Regions from separate parts of the Homo sapiens genome. Here region 1 is linked to region 2. Evidence: promoter capture Hi-C in 16 types of primary human blood cells and fetal thymus (Javierre and others, 2016). All regions are on one chromosome and are shown on one strand. The core of a region is centred on a gene start or on the middle of the fragment in contact, and the rest is flanking DNA. Distances in the headings are between cores, read along the strand shown.

Evidence for each region. Contacts are between HindIII fragments. The CHiCAGO score rates a contact against its expected background, and 5 or more counts as called.
Region 1: the fragment with the promoter of KMT2A here is called in contact with a fragment that was not itself captured in region 2 in 1 of 17 cell types (neutrophils); the score reaches 6.5 in neutrophils.

What each region holds. Positions count from the first base shown.
Region 1 is chr11:118,434,542-118,438,474 of GRCh38, reverse strand. KMT2A (lysine methyltransferase 2A) reads right to left here and starts at 1,983. Exons shown (of 36, transcript NM_001197104.2): 1 at 1,531-1,983. The coding sequence starts at 1,962. RefSeq lists enhancers at 17-1,014, 1,015-2,013, 2,675-2,814, 2,014-3,011 and a silencer at 1,885-2,364. The HindIII fragment of the contact is 8,732 bases long and covers 1-3,933 here.
Region 2 is chr11:118,144,768-118,148,224 of GRCh38, reverse strand. SCN4B (sodium voltage-gated channel beta subunit 4) reads left to right here. Exons shown (of 5, transcript NM_174934.4): 2 at 2,996-3,168. Among named protein-coding and RNA genes, the nearest start is that of SCN4B, 6.3 kb to the left of the region's middle. RefSeq lists a silencer at 2,316-2,385 and enhancers at 2,806-3,005, 3,222-3,457. The HindIII fragment of the contact is 3,839 bases long and covers 1-3,457 here.

The DNA of each region.
Region 1 (3,933 bases), core at 734-3,233, 290 kb before region 2:
CCTCCTCCTAGCATCCCCCATGCCATCCTCCCCCCTCTACAATTCGAACTCCCCCCTTCTGCATCCAATGGAAAACAAATGCGCAACGCCACTGGCTGAACCTGAACTCAACTTCCCTTCCTTGGGCAACTTTCCTTTTTGCTGAAGGGGGCCGAATAATGTTTATAGAAGCAACTCCGTTCTTGCCCCAGTACTAATGGGGAAGGGGCAACGCTCTGACCCTTCATCCACCTTGGGTCCCCTTACAAGAATCAGAGACAACCCCAAGTCCTTTCTAAGGAATAACTTTGCTTGATAATCCTTTTTCTCCCATCCCAAAGCAACCACCGCCACCACACTAAAGTATAACTGTCCCTTATCTACTCTCCTCACCCCAACCTGGCTTCCCCCACCCCTTCCAAGCCCCAGGATTGGCCTAGGAAAAGGTGGATCAATAATGAAATGACGAGAAGAGAAGGGCGGGAGGGAGCTCGGGTTGGAGACTGCGTGCTCTCAGGCGCAGTGGGTGGGGTAGGAGAGCAGCTGCTTCCCCTGGGAGGATGCTGCCTCAGTCCCCCAACAAACACCTCCCCTCACAGGGGCCCCCTTCCCCAGAGCTGGAGGGAAAGCCTGCCTCCTCTCCAAGGGGAGTGGTGGAAAGCTGCTCTTCTCTAAGCCTAGGGGACAGTGGACTATTTTCCCCTCCAAGATGCCACTAATCCTTCATTCTAAAGGAGGGAAAGGGTGGAGTGAAGGTAGAGTAATTCCCGGCTACCAATAGGCTAGAAACTGTAGCCCTGTAAGACGGGGCGGGGGGGGGAAGAGACTGCTGTATGAGGAATCACCGTTATCTTCAGAGGGAAAGGAGGTGAGACCAGGCAAGGTGCAGAGGAGAGATTTTCCCCGGTGGGGTAGGGCGGGATGGGGGAGGATCGGTCTGCTTGGGGTGGGGGTAGAGGGTGGAGGTGAAGGAAGGGGGAGTGGCTGGCAGTATAGGGACCTGGCCCGGGGATGGCGCGAGGGTTCATCGGGTTTTCGAAAGCAAGGTGCTGGAAGGGACACGATCCCCAAGGGCCAGGAGAACGTGGCCCTGGATGAGGCCATCACCCGAGAGACGCCCGAGAGGAAAACTGCCCTAGGAGTAACACATCTGCCCAGAGAGGGAGGCGGGGATGTGGCGGGATCAGGTCTCTAGGAGGGAGGGAGGGAGGAATCTTGCTCGGATGAGGTAATCTGTGAAAGGGAGGAGGGGTTCAGTCCCGGGATGGGAAACCCCGGCGAGGGGGTCTGTGCCAAGGGATTTGGGGAAGGGTCAGGGGGAGGAGAGCGGGGGGCAAACGCCCTCAGCCAGATGGGCCCAAACCCCGGGGTGGGGGCGCCTGGGGGTCTGCAGCCCTGCATGGGGGTCCCAAGATGGGAGAGCCATTCGCCCCGGGTCAGGGACCCCGAGATGGTCCCAGAATTGGGATGCTCCTCAATCCCGGATGGGGGAGGGGAGGGGGCTCCGCAGAGGGTCGAGACCCCGGACCTGGGGGTTCCTCGCCCCCTTACCTCTCCGCTGCCGCCTCCCCCGCCGCTCTCCCCAAACACGGCCCGGAACCGGCGCAGGTTGGTGCCGATGGCGGCCGAGACCTGCAGCGCCGCGTCGAAGCCCGGGCCCACCCGGAGCAGGGCCGGCCCTGAAGAGGCTGAGGACGATGACGAAGACGAAGACGAGGCGGACGACGAGGAGGCTGCTGAGGCGGCGGCCGCTCCCCCTGGAACCCCAGCCCCGCTGCTTCCCGCCGCCGCCGCCGCGGCCGCCACAGCCGGGGGGGAGGGGGGCGCCCCGGGGCCGCCACCGCCGACCGGGGGCCCGGGGGGAAGCAGCAGGGCCGGGACGCGTTGCCGCGGGGCGCCCCCTAGGCCCCGGCGCCCCCCGCCGCCGCCGCCCCCGGTGGTCCCGGGTCGGGCGGGGAAGCGCCACCGACAGCTGTGCGCCATGTTCGCCCCGTGAAGTGAAGCAGCGAGAGGGAGAGGCGACAACACAGGGGGGCGGGGAGGCGGAGGGGGGGGCACGGGGCCCCGGAACCTGCCTAACCAGCTCTGCGCCGCCCGGCCGCCTGCACCCTGCCGGCCGCTATGCAGAGCGCCGGGCCGCGCCCGCCAGCCCCGCAATCTGTATAGCGGCCTCGGGCCTCCGCCTCTGACGCCTGGGCGCTGCAACTCCATCCCGAGGCCCGGGCCGCCGCCTCCTGCCCGCCCGCCGGCCCCGCAACCTGGATAACTGCATGCCCCGCCCTCCGGGAGAGGCATTGCTCGGGAAAAGGAGGGGGGAAGGAAGCCCGGGAGCCCGGAGCAGAGCGCGGGTTCCGGAGAGAGGGGGAGGGGGCGAGGACTACGCGGAGGATGGAGGCGTAGGGAGCCGGGCCGCCTGCAGCCTTGAGCGCCGAGAGGCCGATTACACACGTTCCCGGGACGCGCTGGGAATCGAACAGCCCGGGAGAGCAGCTTCCAGTATAACGCGGCGGCTGGGTCGGGGAGCAGTGAGCCTTCTCCTCCGCCCCAGGGCACGGATACAAGATGGGTTAGCCCGAATTGAACGCTTCTAGAATAAAAGAGCCCTTATTGTACTACATGCAAAACAGAAGCGCTGCCCAGTTTACTATATGCAAAACAGAAAGGCCCTCAATGAACGCACTTTAAAAAATAAAAAAGGAGCCCCTCCCATTTTCATGCTGGAGCTCTTTCCAAAAAGCACACACCGAGTGGCAGGTCTCCTGCCACCTCCTCGCTCTACTGTGCACTCGTCTGGCTTTCGTGCCCTTCTGCAGGGAGTTGGGTTGTGTTTCTCCAGCCCGGGCACTGAGGCCACGGCGTGCTCCGCTAACGACGCGGTGTTACAACGAAGCTGAAGCTGGGTGGCTAACGGGGCCTGGAGGGAAGAGGCGGGCAAAAGCGCCCCCGCCCCTTCTTCCTCCGGTCTCTGCCTGCCGCTGCATGCAAAGCAGACCCTAATGTATGCACGCAGAGGGAGGGGGGCTCGCGAGCACGTTTCTGATTAAGAGAGGGGGAGGAGGAGAGCGTTGGGCATTATGATACACTGGGTGGAAGGGGCCCGCCGGCGGCGAGCTCTGTGCGCGGGGTTAGTAAGCTGAGGGGGGAGGGGGAAAGAAGGAGGCGAGTTAGGGAGGGGAATGAATATCCACCGGGTTTACTTTATTGCGGGAAAGAGGGGAGGGCGCCTCGAGCATAGCGTTAGACGCCTGCAAGGCTGGGAAAGCCGAGAGGGTAGGGAGGGGTTTGTGTCGGGAGAACTTGCGTTGGCTGAGGCTGGGGGATCGATACACAGCCTGCAGGCCCCGGGGCAGCCTCCATCCCCCAAGCCGAGGGGGAGTTCGCTGGAAGGTCATGCAGCCTTCCTGGACTCCCGCACCGGTACAGCGCACTGCATGTAATATTACAGCCTGGGGCGGCGAATTTGGGAAGGAGGGAGAGGGTCGTTGTGAGCAGGTTGCACTCAGCTCTGGCCCTCCGGAGGGTGCACTTCACGCCTCCAGAGAAGGTCCACAGCCTCCTGGTGCTGAAAACCTACGTCCCTCCACTGGCGAAACATTTGTGCAGAGCGGACGATGGGATGGGGGCTGGAGAGGAGCAATGAAAGGGAGGAGACACAGGCAAGCCTCAACTCCCCCAACTCGTCCCGAATCGATCTTCGTTCCAACCGCGCAGGATGGGGCCCAGATGGTTTGCAAAGCGCACACTCGCACAACGCAATACACAGAACAAGATTCCGTTGTTACAGCGCGTGGTTTACTAGATGCTAAAAGGGTGGGAGTAGCAGGAGGGTCTTAAACGGCAGCCCCAAGGCTCTGCTAAGGACAGAGACACCCCATTGTGGACGGTTTCTCCATTGCAATATATTTAGCGTTGGGCGCTGGGGTTTTTGCTTCAGTGTAGCTGCTCTGATCAGTT
Region 2 (3,457 bases), core at 329-2,828:
CCACCCTCTCTGATGCTTTCACTCGGGCAGGGCTCTGGACTCTGTGAAACCATTTCTGCCGGTTTTCATTTTCCCCTCCCAGCTACTGAGGAAATGGCAATGCTTCACTTGCAGAGTCCTGAGTGTATTGGACTTAAGTCATCCACATAGGTGCACACAAACCAGGCAGAAACGTGTACTGTGTCATGAGCCAGACCTTAAAGATACAGTGTTCCCCTCTCTTCTGGACCCATCTTTTGCTCGTTTTTGCTTCTATTTAAAGCAATCAATAAGATTTCCTTTTCGCACGCATCTTTTGTGCTCTTGAATATCTCTTTCTGGCTAGGGTTGAGGTGGGGAGATTTGGGCACGGATTTGAGTTCCCCCATCTCCTCCAGGACCCTGATTCCTGGACCGGTATGCTGATGAGGAGGAGCTGCCACACTCCTTGGTGCCCTGAGGGAGGCCATTAGCTATCAGGAAGCTGCCTTGTCTGACAGCTTCCCTGTCCACTGCTCTGCATTCACTTCCTGTTTGTGGGGGCTGTGGAGGGTGGGAAGCAGAGTTGGTATCTCCCACCAAAAGGTTCTAGTGCTGGCTGCAGACTGGAGAGTGGGATCTTGTGTCTGGCTTCTGTCCCTAGACCTCTGGGGGAGATGGGGCGGAGGAGGGCAGAGGTAAACAGAAAGGCAGGAGTTCTATGGAGTGCTAAGCCCTGATAGCAGTGTTTTTCTTGGAGAGTGTGGTTGGTCACAGAGTGGTGGAAAGGGGCTAATATCTGAACGCTGCTTATTCCACTCACTGGGTGTGTGGCCATGAGCAAGGTAATCTTTTTAAGCCTGTTTCCTCATTTGTTTATTGGGAATAAAAATAGTAACTTATAGGATTATGATGAGGGTTAAATGAGACAGTGTATATAAAATACCTCTCCTATCCTATAGTAACTGCTCAGTCTCAAATTCACCATTTACTCTGTGGCCCTGGGCAAGTCAACTCTCTGAGCCTCAGTTTCATCATATATAAAATGGGAACATTATACCTGCCTTTGAGCATTCTAATAAAAGTCGTAGTTAGTATGCACAAATCCTCTCGCACCGTGGTTCTCAAAGTGTGGTCCCTGCGCACAGCATTCCCTGGGAACTTTCTCGAAATGTAAAAGCTCAGGCTCCACTCCAGACCTGAATCAGAACTCCAGGGGCTGGGCGGAGCCAGCCGTAACTGTTCTCCAGGGGATTCTGATGCGCTCTCAAGTTTGAAAACCATGGCTCTAGAACAAATCCTGGTTGGCCACAAATCCTAGGAGCTGGCCAAAAATAAAGGCTAATTGAAATAACTTCCCAGCACTAATTGGAGCCCTGGTGGGTAGATCTGGGTCTCTTAGGCAAGTTACATAACCTCTCTAGGCTCAGTTGTCTCACCTACAATGTGGACCTATAATAGTACGTGACTCATAGGACAGGCCGTGAGGATGAAATGTGCCTGGCACATAGTAGATGCTCAGTTAATATCAGCTAGTACTATTGTTAGCGACAATGGCCGAATCACGATGGGGTTACTGGACCACGGGGTGTGATTTTAGGGCTGGGGGATATAAGCACTTCACTTTGTCATCAGAAGCTAAGGGCACAGGAAGAAGCTGAGCAAGCAGGGCTGCCTGCTGTCCTTGGAGATCCTTTTCTGTCATTTGAAAAGCATTGCTCAGACGCATTATCATCCGGTGGGGGCAAAACAAGAGGTTTATGATGCAGAACAGGGAATTAAGTTAGACAACAGAGGGCCTTCCTGAGAGTGGGGTTGGAAGGTGCCAGTGTCCTCTAGGGAGGAGGTGAGGCAGGCATCCACTTCCAGACACCCTCCCCGCCCCCGCCTCCACCGACCTTGAGGCGAGTGGGGTTTCCTTGGGGCATCTGCAGGACTGGGGGTGGGTGTGTGTGTGGGGCGGGGTGGCGGGGAACCAGGCCCCCTTACAAGGACTCCGGAGCGGGAGTTTGGAGGCCGTGAGTGGAGAGGCCTAGTCCCAGCGGAGGGGGCCGCATCGGAGTGCTGGGGCGGAGGTTCGAAGCGTGAGAAAGAAGCCTGGGGGCGCTCGGGGACGAGGGGGCGGAGTGTGGCGAGAAGGCCGGGCTGCAGGGCTCAGGAGGGGACCGCGGGTCCAGCGCCCTCCCCGTCCCGCCCCCGCGCGCGTGCACTCGGGCTGGCCCGGAATCCCTCCCCAGGGTGTCTTCTGCCACTGACTTTCCCACCCTGGCTGCGCCCGCGCGCCCCCGCGGCTGCCAAGCTCCAAGCCCCGCGTCGGTCCCCACCCCCGCCGTGTTCCCCCCTGCCAGGCCGTCTTCCTGCGGTTCCCAGGGTCCCGTTTGGCGGCCAGAGGGCGTCGGACTCGGCTGGCCCAGCGAGGTCCAGCCCGAACGTGTCCTTCTGCCTCTCTGCCCCTGGGGACCAGGGAGGAGCCTCCAGGGCGGGGGAACGAGAGGCTACTGGACGGCGGCCCGGGACTGCGGCGGCCGCGTTTCTCTTCTTCACCTTACGGGACCCGGCTCTTCCCCCTCCTCGACCGCCCCGCCCGTCAGTCCTGAAAACCTGGCGAGAGGCGCGTACTGTCCTAGGGGAATTCCCCTGCAAACAGAAGGGAGCCCGCCCTGCGCGTCCTGGAGTGGGTGCGGCAGGAGCGCTTCCAGGCACTGCGTCCCCAGGTGAGGGGCGGAGCCGGGGCGCGGTTCGCGGCAGTGGCCAGGCCTTTGTTTCCTTGGGTTGGGGTGACCCCTGGTGGTCATCCAGAGCGCAACAAGGGCTACTCCCTGGTCCAGAATTCAGTCCTTTCCAGGGGAGAAATGGAGAATGATGGAGGGTGGCCCAGGCGGTGCTGATTGGAGTAGACAGCCATCCTCCCGAGGTTGGCACTGAGGGTGATAGAGACCTACCTGCCTGGCCAAGCTACTCCGCCCTGCCTAAGCATCCCCTTCCAGAGCTCCAGGCTGGTGGGGTTTTATTAAGGGAGGCGGTGCTCCTTACACAGGCCTCTTCCTGCTCCCCGTAACCCTGTCGCTGGAGGTGTCTGTGGGAAAGGCCACCGACATCTACGCTGTCAATGGCACGGAGATCCTGCTGCCCTGCACCTTCTCCAGCTGCTTTGGCTTCGAGGACCTCCACTTCCGGTGGACCTACAACAGCAGTGACGCATTCAAGATTGTAAGTATTTGGAGGAAGAACAGTACAGCCCAGCCTCCCTCACCCATGCCTCGCCTCCTACGCTCTGGTCCCTTCTGGACTGAGACCCACTGCGATGGTCCCCAGAACCCACCTTTTGCCACCCTTTCTCCCAGTATTCTTTTCAGAGCCTGCCAGGAAGGATGTAACTGGGAGAGATGCTTAGATCGTGTTGCCAGAATTCGGGGACTGTTGGAATTCTTGGCTAGAGTCCTCTGTCTGGTCTTAAGAAACACCCGGAGCTTGGATTGCTTGTCTAAAAATCAATAGT